2 separate regions of the Homo sapiens genome follow, and region 1 is linked to region 2. The links are contacts of gene promoters, found by promoter capture Hi-C in human tissues and cell types (Jung and others, 2019). All regions are on one chromosome and are shown on one strand. The core of a region is centred on a gene start or on the middle of the fragment in contact, and the rest is flanking DNA. Distances in the headings are between cores, read along the strand shown. Region 1 overlaps SNPH (syntaphilin). Region 2 holds the start of NSFL1C (NSFL1 cofactor).

Region 1 (6,455 bases), core at 2,659-5,158, 170 kb before region 2:
CTGAAGAAGGGAAAAAGAGAGATCTCCTTCGACAGGTAATAGTGATAGCAAGAAATGTTCAGTCCTCTAATTTCCCAAGAACTACCCCCATCCCTCCATTCATTACCTTGGTTGGATCCCAAAGAGACAGCAGGGCCAGGAAGGTGGCGCCTTCCTGAGTGAATGCATGAGACAGCTGAGACGAACAGAGGTCAAAGACCCAAGGTCACCAAGATGGACGATGTGATATGGCTCAGAGGAGCTGAGGGTCTCTCAGTGGTGGGCTTGCACAGCAGCTGGGCTGCTGGGTGGGACGCAGCAGTTGTTGGAAGAGGAAAGAGCAGTGCTCCTCATGGAAAGGGCTTCTCCTTTGCCTGCGAGGCTGATTCTTAGAGGAACAGGGAAAGTCACTAGTTAGGGAGAAGGCACATGAGGAATTTCTTTTTCTTTTTTTCTTTTTTTTTTTGAGATGGAGTCTCCACTCTGTCGCCCAGGCTGGAGTGCAATGTCGTGATCTCGGCTGACTACAACCTCTGCCTCCCAGGCTCAAGATATTCTCCTGTCTCAGCATCCCGAGTAACTGAGATTACAGGCACCCACCACCTCGTCCAGCTAATTTTTCTATTTTTAATAGAGACAGGTTTTTGCCATGTTGGCCAGGCTGGTCTTGAAATCCTGACCTCAGGTGATCCGCCCACCTCGGCCTCCCAAAGTGCTGGGATTACAGGTGTGAGCCACCGTGTCTGGCCAAGAATTTCTTTTTAAACGACTCTCTGTAGTATGCTTACCTCTTATGTCTGTGATGCCCTGCTTTTATGGAAGTATGACCAGCCCAAAATGCAGGTATATACCTGCTCATCTCCATTGTGGTATCTTAGAGTCTCATGGAAAAGTAGGTTTTTTCTTTTATGCAGCAGAATGATAAGTGTCCCAGGTCTACTGTATTATGAGACCTTCATGATGCAGTAGAAATGCAGGTGCCCATGACCTGGAAATCCAGGGTCCAGCCCTTGGTGACTCTTGTAACCTCTGAGGCTTCAGGTTTCCCATAGATCAGATGGACTAGTCTCTACCTGGCCTCCCTCTATGGGGAATTTGTGTGAGGATTCAACGAAGTTGTGAATATGCAAGAGCTTTAGGGGCAGCCTCAGCTACCAGTCTCCTCCAGGCTGACCCAAAGTCTAGGGAAGCATCCTGGGCCCAGCTACCTGAAGTCAGGTAGAGGGGGGGCACTGGCTCTTGCTCCCCTTCTGCTGCAACTTGCTGAGCCATTCTGGAAGAGTCTCTACCCCTTTCTGGACCATGCCTGTCTTTTTATTAATGCAACGGTTCATTTAAATACACACACACACACACACACACACACACACACACACACACACACAATGGAGTCAGGGGCATGGTGGCTCACACCTGTAATCCCAGCAACTCAGGAGGTGACGCTGGTGGATGGCTTGAGGCCAGGAGATTGAGACCACCAAGAGCAACATAGTGAGACCCCACCTTTAAAAAAAGTAAAAAATAGATTAGCCAGGTGAGGTGGCTACTGGAAAGGCTGAGGCAGAAGGATCGCATGAGCTCAGGAGTTTGAGGCTGCAGTGAGCTATGATTTTGTCACTGCACTCCAAGCCTAGGTGACAGAGTAAGACCCTGGCTCTAAAAAAAAATTAAATATATATCACATGTATTTTTAAAAATTTGTTTTTTATTGAGATATAATTTACATTCCATAAAATTTATCCTTTTAATAGCCAGATGCAGTGGCTCACACCTGTAATCCCAGCACTTTGGGAGCAGGGAGGCCAAGGTGGGTGGATTGCTTGAGGCCAGGGGTTCAAGACCAACCTGGCCAATATGGAGAAACCCCATCTCTACTAAAATATACAAAAATTAGCCAGGTGTGGTTGTGCGTGCCTGTAATCCCAGCTACTCGATAGGGTGAGTCATGAGAATCACTTGAACCCGGGAGGCGGAGGTTGCAGTGAGCTGAGATCGTGCCACTGCACTCTAGCCTGGGCGACACAGTGAGACTCTGTCTCAAAAAAAAAAAAATTAAGTTTTTAAAATGTACAATTCAGGGATTTTAGGATACTCACAAAATTATATAACCATCACCACTAGCTACTTCTAAAACGTTTTTTATCTTCCCAAAAAAGAAACTCCATTCCCATTACCAGTCATTCCCTGTTCCTTCTTCCCTTCCAGTGTGTTTTCTGTCTGTGTGCATTTGCCTGTGCTGGATATTTCATATAAATGGAATCATGCAATATGCGGCCTTTCGTATCTGGCTTCTTTCATTTAGCATAATGTTGTCAAGGTTCATCTGTGTTGTAGCATGGATCAGTAATACTTCATTCCTTTTATAGCTAAATATTCCATTGCATAGACGCATCACATTTTGTTTATCCATTCTTCTATTGGTGGACATTTGGGTTATTTCCACCTCTTAGCTATTAAGAATAGTGCTACTGTGAAGTACACTTCTTATACAAGTTTTTGTTTGAGCATCTATTTTCCATTCTTTGGGGTATATACCTAGCAGTGGAATTGCTGGTTCTTATGGCAATTCTATGTTTAACTTTTCGAGGAACCACCAAACTGTTTTCCATAGCAGCAGCGTCATTTTACATCCCCACCAGCAATACATGAGAGTTCCAACTTCTCCACATCCTTGACAACGCTTGTTATTGTCCATCTTTTTTATGCTAGCCATCCTAGTGAATGTGAAACAATATCTCATTGTGGAAAATAAGTATTCCATAGATTTTTAACCTGAAAAATCCTTTTTAAAAAGTAGTCTTACTTCACACCTTCCATATGTAAAACACATACGAGAGGAGCCTCTTCAGGTGAAATGGGGGAGGAGGCCCAAGCCACCCCTCCCAGTAGGTGCAGAGGCAAGTCCTCTTGGGTGGTTTGAAGACCTAGGCTTGATGCCCTTCAGCTCTGGAATCTGAGTCTAATCACTGGAGACACATCCTGTGTAGCAGCTGCCTCAGCCCTCAACCTATGCTGGTTGCCTGGGGAAGCTTCTCACAGCATTTGGCCAAGTTGTGGGTCTGCCTTGCCGCTGTGTTGGGGTTGCCACAACAGTGAGAAGAAGTCGGATGGCGCCTCATGTGTGGTCCCAGCTTTGAGGGTGGCTTGTGTGGGAAACAGGAAGCAAGCTGGAGAAATGCCAGCAAGTCCTGGAAGGAAGATCCTAGGTTTTGTTGACAAAGGAGGAGCAGAGGCACATAGTGGCTGATGAGGCCATAGCCAGTGCAGGGTTTACTGAACTCCTCAGCTGTGAATAGCCCTGGTAGTGCTAATCTTCTGAGATCTAGAGTGTGGCTGCTGGAACACTCCCAGGCCTGTCTTCTATTCCCACCTCTCTGCATTAGCATTCTAGGAGCACCAGGCACTCTGCTGTCTGATGGGTGGAATGTTCTGCGTTCTAGTGTTACCTTGGCAAAGAGAGGATCCCTCCCAAGTTCTGCTCTGTTGATTGCAATGCTCTGCTTTCCACAGCTGTCAGTGGTTTGAGTCATCAGACACAGATTGTTCTGTTCCCTCGGATTTTAGGATAGCTTTCTTCTTGTATCAATGGCTAATTCTTTGAAAGAAGATAAATTATAGTACATACAGGGACTTTTGCTTAGCTGGAATATTAGATTAACCCAAGCACCTGGTTTTTCCCCCATGACTGTTGATTGGGGAAAATGCTATCATGTCTCTTTGAAGAATGGAGCTTCCTAATTTTACATATGTGGAAACTGAGACCCGAAAGTCCTAGTAATGAAGGAGAAAGAAGCATCAATTAGAAGCCCATAATTTCATTGACAGCTCTAGAATTAGAGAATGTTAGATCCAGAGCACCTTAGAGACCATCTAATCTGACTCTTTGGTCTATTCAATGTGCTTGTTTAAACCATTGTATTACCAACAGTTGTGTGTTGATTGTGTTTGTTTTTATGAAGTTTCCCAGGGGATGGTGTTCCCTGAGTTTTAGTCTAAGGCATAGCATCCTAAGTGGTCAAGACAGTAAGTGATAGGAGAAGTCACTGGTGGAAAGGCTGTGGGTGGGACCTAAAGAAAGAGTGCAATGTATGCCTGAGGACAGGCAGGGAAGATGCTGCAGATGGGACAAACAGCCCATGTAGAGATGCAGATTTGGGAGTGACTAGCCGAGGTCTCCTGGATGTATCAGAGAGCCAGTTGGAAAGGTTGTAGATGAGAGGGCCTTAAGCACCCACATCAAGAGCTTTGCTCTGATTTTTACCTAATCTGGGACTTCCAAGGAATTTTGAACAGGGTCCAGGCCCTTTTCTCCATTGTTCCTGCCATGACCCTGGCCCAGGCCCTCCTAATTTCTCCCCTGGTTGGTAACCTCCTAACTGGTATCTGGTATCCCTCCCTCTCCACACAGGCTCCTTATCAGGAACTTTCTAAAATGCAAATATGATTGTGCCCCTTTCCTATAAAGCACTTGCATGGCTTCCTGTTGCCCACAGGACAAGATCCTGGCTTAAGTGGCTCTGTGTGGCCTGCCCCCCTCCTTCTGCAGCCTCACTCCCACTGTACTTCTGCCCTCAACAGGCTCCCTAGTTTCTGAGCAGCCAGCTGTCACTCACTGCCTGTGTCCAGACTTCTCCTTCCCTCCCATTTTCTGCTGCCACCTGGTGAACTCTTATTCATCCCTCAAGACCCAGTGCAAATTTCTTGTGTAGAGAAGCGTTCCTGGATCCTCCTGAAGACACTATTATGGCTTGAATGTGTTTCTGTTTTGAAGCTCACTTCATGTTACTTCCAAAATACTGGCTGCCCCCATGTTTTAGTGTTTATTGTGTGATAGGCACTGACCTAAGCCCCATACTCACATTATTTTATGTTATTCTCACAGTAACCATATGAGGTGCATTCATTAGAGCCCCAGTTATTACAGATATGGGCAGTGAGGCTCAGAGAAGTGGGTGACTTGCCCAAGGCATGCAGCTGAAGGGTGCCAGAGCTGGCATTTGAGCCCAGATCAGTTCATATTGACTTCTGCAGTCATTAGTCTCATGCTCCCTGGACCCCCATTGTCGGGGGGGTTAGGAAGTGTTGAGCATTTGAGGGAGCAGTCAAAGGAGTGGATGCAGCAGGGTTGCTATGGTGTGGACAAGATGGGGAAGTGGAGGGAAGTTCAGTGAGGGCAGGGGCTGGGTTTACTCTGGGGTTAAAGTGATGAGAGACTATCAGCCCAGCTTCCCACAGTTAAGGGTTTTCTTTCTACCTTCCTTTCCAAGTGGCAGCCTCTGGCCACCTGGGGAGAGGCCTGCGGGACTCCAGGCTAAGCAGGTGGCATGGTGACAAACACCATGGCAACCTGCCTCCTTGCTAGGGCCTAGAAGGGAGGGAGGACCTGAGAGAGCACAGGATGCACACTGAGTTTTCTGAGTAGGATCCTGAGAGGTGGCTCCCTTTGGGCCTGGGTGGCTTCTGCCCTCCCATGAGGGACCCTGCCTGCAAGGTCCCATCCCAGCAGGGGAAATGCGTCTTCCACCTTTGTCCCTAATGAATACCTGGCTCTGGGTGCCCAGGAGACTGTTAGCTATACGCAGGTACAAGTGCCACCCCCTTCCCTCCCCCAGGCCAGGGAGGAAGGAAGAGGGAACTCAAGAGGAGGCAGGTGTGGGGTAGCCAAGCAAGATAGTGGCAGGGACAGCTGGGACAAGGCCCTCATTGTAGCAAGGCCACACGCAGCTCCAAGACAAACCAGGCATTTTGCCTGCCTCCCAGGACTGGGCCTAGCACTCTGCCTGGACTTTCCTGGCTCCTTAGAACACTCACTCACACTGGCTTGGAAGAGCCCATCCTCAGATCTGAGTCCTGCCTCTGCTGGAAAGTCCTCCTGAAGGCTCAGCCTCCTTTTTGCATCCTCCCAAAAGCCAGAAGGGCAGGGATGATGGTGGGAAAGTTGTTGGTGAAGCCAGGCCGACCTGGGCCAGAAGCCAGAGCATGTCACACCTGCAGCTGTGTGACCTTGGGCCCAAATGCAGTAACAAAGCCGGCCTTGAAGGATTGCTGCTTCAAGTAATGGGCCAAGGCAGACGAGAGCACTCAGCATGGCCACCTTACCACTGAAGGATTCAGGCAATGGCAGGTGATCCTTGGAGCCCTTGCCCATGTGCCCCTCTGCACCCTAAGCTGTTCCTGGTCAAGATCCTCCTGTGCCCAGGAGGCAGTGAGCCATTTATGGCCATCCTCACAAGCATGGAGGAGCACTGATGTCCTCTTACCCCCAAATCGCCCCTCCTCCATGGTTCCTGCTCTAGGGGCCAGCCCTACAGTTCCAGGAGGCCCTGCCTGGGTGACTGGGGCATAATGAGTGGGAAGCATTGCCAAGCTGGGGCAAGAAGCTCAGGTGACAGGTGTGGTGTCGGCAGGTCCTGCAGCCCAGCACCCGACACCTCCAGGCAGACAATGCTGGCTGTGTCCAGACCCTCCAGGGGAAC
Region 2 (6,124 bases), core at 1,109-3,608:
GAGCACAAAGGAATACAGACATGGCCAACACTTACAAGGTAGCTTGCATCCATGGGCCAAAGAAAATTAGACCAGAAGGTTAACAGCTCAGCTGTTAGTCTTCGTGTCAACTGAAACAAATTCCACCCACTAAGGTGAAAAGAAGGCAGTAAGAATGGCTGGGGTGGAAGACACTCTTTATTCTCATTTTATGAAGAAACGTGATCTAGTAAAAGTAGCACACATTTAGTGAGCATTTACATGCCAGGTTGTTCTGAGCATTCTACATACGTTAATTTGTTTAATCCTCAAGAACTCTATGCTATTAGTACTCTTATCATCTCATTTTATAGTTGATACAGAAGCACTGAGGATTAAAAAAAAATTTGTTCAAGTTTACACAACTGGTAAAGAGAGGAGCCAGGTTCCATCCCTGCTAGTGTGCTTAGGCCCTCACTCTTAAGCGCTTCCAGTACAGCCCGGAGTCAGGAACTGTGGAGTCAGTCCAGGTTGCTACTTTTCCTTTCTTTCAAGTTGTTTCCTAATCTGTGAAATGGGGGTACCTGTCTCACCAACCTGCACACTGGATGAGATAATCCATTAAGATTTATGCATACTCGCATCTTAGGTTTACACATACAGAAGGAATATGGGAATCCTTTGGTCATTTGTGACATCTCTGTCACCAACTCAACGGACAGGCATTCACTAATCACTTGCTTTGCACAAACACAAGAAAGCATTGAGGTCACAGAGATGAAATAGACATGGCCTCTGTCCTCAGGGTCACCAACTTCACAGGAGACAGTGAGCTGTCAAGGGATAAAAGTAATCTGCTGGGAGGCAGTGTGCTGTCTCAGGCCATGTAGTGAACTGGCATTCTCAGGGAGCCTACATTCAAGTCCTGTTCCTGCCAGGCAAGTCACATGCATGATCCTCAGTTTCCCCACTACAATGTGAGGGGAACGAGACAGAAGATCTGTTGGTCACAACACTGTGTGCTTTTAGGTCTTTCAGGTAGAAACTTTTTATTTCTGCCCAGCATAGGGGCTTCCCATTGTGTCTAGGTGTGATCTAGGTGTGATGCTTTACCGAATTCTTATGTTTGGGGAGTAATTTACGTTTGGCAGCAGACTCAGTTCAAATTCCAACCCCGCTACTTACTGGCTATGTGACCCTGAGCAAATTCTTTGCCCTCTGTGCTTCCAATTCCTCATCCATAAAATGGGTCTAGTCTTTACCTCATAGTGTTGCTAGGATCCAACGAATCATATTATGTAAAGTGCTTGGCACATGGTGGTTTAAAGCTTGGGCTCTGTCTGCTTGCAATCAGACAGAACTGGGTTCCACTTCTACCTCTTCTGCCTGGTAGCTAGTGAGGCCTTGAGCAAGTTACTTAACCTCTTTAATCTCAGCTGCAAAATGCGAAGGTTAAATGACAAAAGACATGTAAAGCAGTCAGAACAGCGCTTGGCTCATGGTAGGTACTCAATAAATATTAGTCATCACCGTCATCATCTACCTAAGACGAAGCTGGCCAAGAATATTTATGCAATTCTTTCTACAGTTAATTACCGAATGCTTATTATGTGCCAGGCATTGTTCCAGGCACTGGGAATTCATCAGTGTACAAAAATCCCTGCCTCGTGAAGCTTAAGTCTTCTTAGCAAGTATTTAGTGAATACTCAGTACGTGCCAATGAACTACACAGCAATTTCCACGAGACTCCCATTTTACAGATAAGTTAACTACGCAAGGTGAAGAAGCTCCAACCTTGCGCCACCACCCCAGAGGTATTCTCCCAGCAATTAGGAAGGCTGGGCGGCGGTCAACTCCCGGGCTGGACTTCGGAAGTGGAAATGAGCGGCCACCTAGTCCCGAGTGGGGCTTCACCCAAGAGCTGCTCACTCGGACCAGCCCGGCCTCCAGCAGATACTCGGCGCGGCAGCCACGCCCCCAGGCGCTCCCTCTCCTCGCCGGCTGCCGCAGCGCCCGAAGTCTCGCTGACGCCGCAAGCGGGCGAGGCAGGGTGAAACTGGCACGGCAGAACTGGCTGGGGCTGGCCCGCGTTCCCCCACTCCCAAGCCGAGCAGGCGACGCGTGACAAGCGGTCCCGGGACCATGAGGCCTGGGTCGGGCCGCGGTAGAGCGGGGATGACTGTGCGCTTCGGCCGCCGCGGGCTTAAGGCACCAGGCGCCCGCTCCCAGCAGTCCCCGGCCCACCCGACACAGCCCGCCGCGCGGCGCTACCTGCAAGTCCCAGCCGGCCGACTCGAGAAAGAAGCGGGCCCGGTCCTCCTCGGCGCCCGTCACCGCCACGAACTCCCTCAGCGCCTCCTGTCGCTCCGCCGCCATCTTCGCCCCGTGCGCCTTCCAAAGCGCTCCGGCGGCCGCCGCACAGGCCCAGCCCCGCTGCCGCGTTCCGCTTGCCGGTCGACGAGGCCCAGCCGATGAGGGCCCAGCAGCTGGGAGCCCGCCCGCAGCCCCGCCCCACGCGGTGCCTCACGCAAAGCCCTCCGTGCGGGAAGCCCCGCCGCTCCGCGCCCTCTGGCGACCGCGGCGCGAACCGCAGCCTAACGGCGGGGGTGGGAGCCCGAAGGATGAGAGGCGGGGCGGGTCTTACATACACCTGTGGGCTGAAGGCTCCCTGCAGGAGTCAGATTCCCAGTTATTCATTGACGCAGCCCTCATTTCATTAATTGTGCATTCGTTCATTCACTTACTTGTCAAGCATTTACTGAGAGCTATCAATGGCCCGACGTTTTTCTAGGGCTGTGGATATGGCAGGGAGCAAAACAAAGTCCCTGCTCCCATGCTTCTTACATTCTAGGGGTAAAAATTCAGACCTTGAACAGGCTAGGCCTCCGCTCACAACACGTCCATGCCTCGTTATCTCGCCCCGCATAAAAGACAGTCTCATGGCCTGCCTGCAGGACCCATGAGAGATGGGCCAGTTCCTCCCTCTCATCAAGGGATCCGCTAGCTTCCTCTGCTCCAGGCGCCTTGCCCTCCTTGCTGTTCCTGGAACTTGCCAGTTATCTTGCATTTGCCTCAGGGCCGTTGCATTAGCTGCTTCTGTGCCTGGAGCACCTTTCCCTTACCGATGGGCAAGGCGCTCTCCCCGCTTTCTTTGGGCCTCTGCTCCAAGGCCACTTTCTTAGGCACAATCCTGTCTTCTGGGTCCTCAGCTTCTTTGCCCTCTTGCCTCTCCAAAGAGGAACTTACTTGTTCAGCTTACTTGTTCTTTGTTCTCTATTTTCAAAGCCTAACTTCCTTGTTCTTTGTACCTCCTTACCCCTAGTTACGGTAAACAACCTTCCCGCGGGTCCTAATCTATAACTCACATCTGTTCCCTTGGATACCCTCGCTACAATTGCCATTCCCGCGGAAACTCTTCTTCCTGCCGAAACCGCTTGCCCTACCACTGTAGCCCACATTTCTGCTCCATTTGAACTAGCCAATCGGGATTAGCTTAGATTGCGCAGTCCAGCCCCAGCCAATGGGAACAGGACACAGAAGCAGCGACTAACCGCATTAGGGATAAAAACCCCTTCTCTCTTTTGTTCGGTGTGCTTTCCTGAAGACCAGATGTGTGAGTGGCACCCTTCTGCAGAAGTAAATTGGCTTTGCTGAAAAATCTTTTATTTCAGTGCTGGTTTTCCTTGAGACTTCGAGCTTTAATTTCCAACACCACCGTGGGACACTCTTCCCTTCCTCTTCCTCTGTCGGCCCCTGCTCATTCTTCAGCTCTCAGTTCAGGTGTCCCTTTCTCAAGGAGACCTTGAGAAGGTGCCCAGGCTTAGTCAAAACCCCTCTTAATCAGGTTATGAACAGCACAAAGTCCAGTCTTCCCTCAATTGACACAATAGTTGCTTTCCTGGAAAATTCGGTGTCTTATTAACACTGTGCAAGAAATCCTTTAAGTTTATATGACAAACGAGTTAGGGCTTGGGTTAGGTTATTAGGAGCATGGTTGCAGCCACAATAGGCCCTGGCAGGAGGCATGGGAGGAGGGTCCTTTCTTTGTGGTGTGAGACTCTCCTTTCTATTGCAAGGCCACCCAGGACCAGCCCCGGTCCCTAGGACTTACCCCTTTCATCATTGTGTCAACTCGAAATGCACCCCAACTTTCCAGGAAGTCCAAGAAGCTAGAGGCTCACTCTGGACCTCACGATTGGCAACCAGTAAGGTCTTTCTACCCTGGAAACTGACAACGACTAACCCCAGCTTAAAGATCTGCAGGCGATCAGCTCCTCAAGGTCCAGTTCCCTGGCTGGTATTGGAGTCATTGAAACTCATTGTCACCCCCCCTCTTCATTTTTGTGCCATCAGGGAAAGCTCTTTGTTCGGCCAGAGGGTCCCTGATCCCTCTTCTAGAGGACTTGAGGGCATCCTTTCCCATAACACTACCTGGCAGCTAGTGTTTACTGAGCACTTACTATGCCCCTAGACACTCTGCAAAGAGCCTTAGATACACTAACTCATGCACCCTATGAAGTGAGTTCTATTGTTATCATTTCCATTTTGCAGATGGGGAAACCTAGACTTCTAAAGAGTTTTGAATCCAGGTATGGCACAGCTCCTGAGTCTGCTTCTAACCGCTACACCACACTGTCTCTCCTTAGACTGCAGGACTGTGCTGGTCACTTCCTATGGCTGGTTTCTGGAAGCAGCTCCAGATGACCCAACTGGAGTTTAAGGCAGGGGATGTGAGGGCATGAACTTGAAACTACATTTACATAACACTTATCTAAGTGTCCTTAACAAAACTAGAGAAGGAGGTGCTGCAGGCTCAGCTTTAGCTCCACTCTCCTATGTCCAACCACACCAGCCCCCAACCTCCAGCCCCATCCCACCCAAGCCCCATCCCCAAATTCTACCACCACGACCACCTCCAGCCTCACCTCTACCTCACAGATCCGCCACCAGCACCTGACCCACCCCGCCCCACTTTCCCTTCTAACTCCACCCTCAGTACTAAATGCACCCCACCCTCCAAAGCCCACTTTCACTCCATTTCACCCCCAGCCCCCTCCGGGCTCATCTCCATCTTCCTTCCCACTCCAGTCTCACCCCAGCCCCTCCCTTTAATCCTATCTTCCACCACCTCCCGCCCCACCCCAGCCTTCCTTTGGCACCCCCTCTGCCGTGTCCTCACTGGTGGTGACTTCACTTTGGGCAGGAGCTGTGTGTACCCAGGACTGGTGTCTCCTCTGACCCCCTACTCCAGTCCCCTAAGCGCTAAACCCTCTATAGCTTAGGGGGCCAGGGGAGCTGCTAGGTGGAGCAAATGATTGATTTCTCAGCTGACATTCAGACCTTCCAGAGGCCCCTATACATGGAAGCTGCCGGTACCACTCACCCTTCTCTACTACCTCAGCCTCAGCACTGCCTTCTTCTACCACTCTTCTTCACAAAAGGTGACAGAGCGAGACTCTGTCTCAAAAAAAAATAATAATAATAATAACAACACTACCACTGCCTCAGCAAAGTTGGGACTATTTGTCTCTCTTTTCACAACATCTTCAACTAATGACAATAATAATAAAATAACAGTACTGCCAGCCGGTGACTAATGCTTGGTTGCATTAGTCAGCAGTGAGAACCAATGAAAACTGCAATGAGATTCCCTTTTGCCTTATCCAACTGGTAAAACATTTACAAGTCTGACTGTTAGAGTAGGCAGATAGCCAGAAATAAGCAGGCAAGGGAGCGTTTGGGAAAAGAAGTCCTGGAGACTCCATTCACTGACAGTCAGCGCCACCCACTGGCGGCCAGCAAAGAGACAATGGCTACACTGGCAACTTCTGGCCTTGTGGTTGGGCTCCTCTGGCCCTAAAGGGGACTTATGAGGCCTTACCCAGAGATAACCATGGTAGGGACTTTCCCACTGACGAGCATGTGCACTCCTCCAGTAACTCGCCCTACAGTAGCCTTTTGCTCATTATAATAACAAGCCGGGCACAGTGGCTCATGCCTGTAATCCCAGCACTTTGAGTGGCCGAGGTGGGCGGATGACGAAGTCAGGAATTTGAGATCAGCCTGGCCAATATGGTGAAACCCCGTCTCTACTAAAAAAATACAAAAATTAGCCAGGCATGGTGGTGCGTGCCTGTAGTCCCAGCTACTCAGGAAGCTGAGGCAG

What was found. Contacts are between HindIII fragments. The study calls those that stand out against the background at their distance.
Region 1: a contact is called between a fragment that was not itself captured here and the fragment with the promoter of NSFL1C in region 2, in 1 of the 25 tissues and cell types used here (mesenchymal stem cells).

What each region holds. Positions count from the first base shown.
Region 1 is chr20:1,288,194-1,294,648 of GRCh38, forward strand. All of the region lies in intron 2 of SNPH (syntaphilin), which reads left to right. Among named protein-coding and RNA genes, the nearest start is that of SNPH, 25 kb to the left of the region's middle. The HindIII fragment of the contact is 5,213 bases long and covers 1,303-6,455 here.
Region 2 is chr20:1,464,491-1,470,614 of GRCh38, forward strand. NSFL1C (NSFL1 cofactor) reads right to left here and starts at 2,359. Exons shown (of 9, transcript NM_016143.5): 1 at 2,230-2,359. The coding sequence starts at 2,334. RefSeq lists an enhancer at 1,588-2,089 and a silencer at 2,384-2,653. The HindIII fragment of the contact is 15,990 bases long and covers 1,459-6,124 here.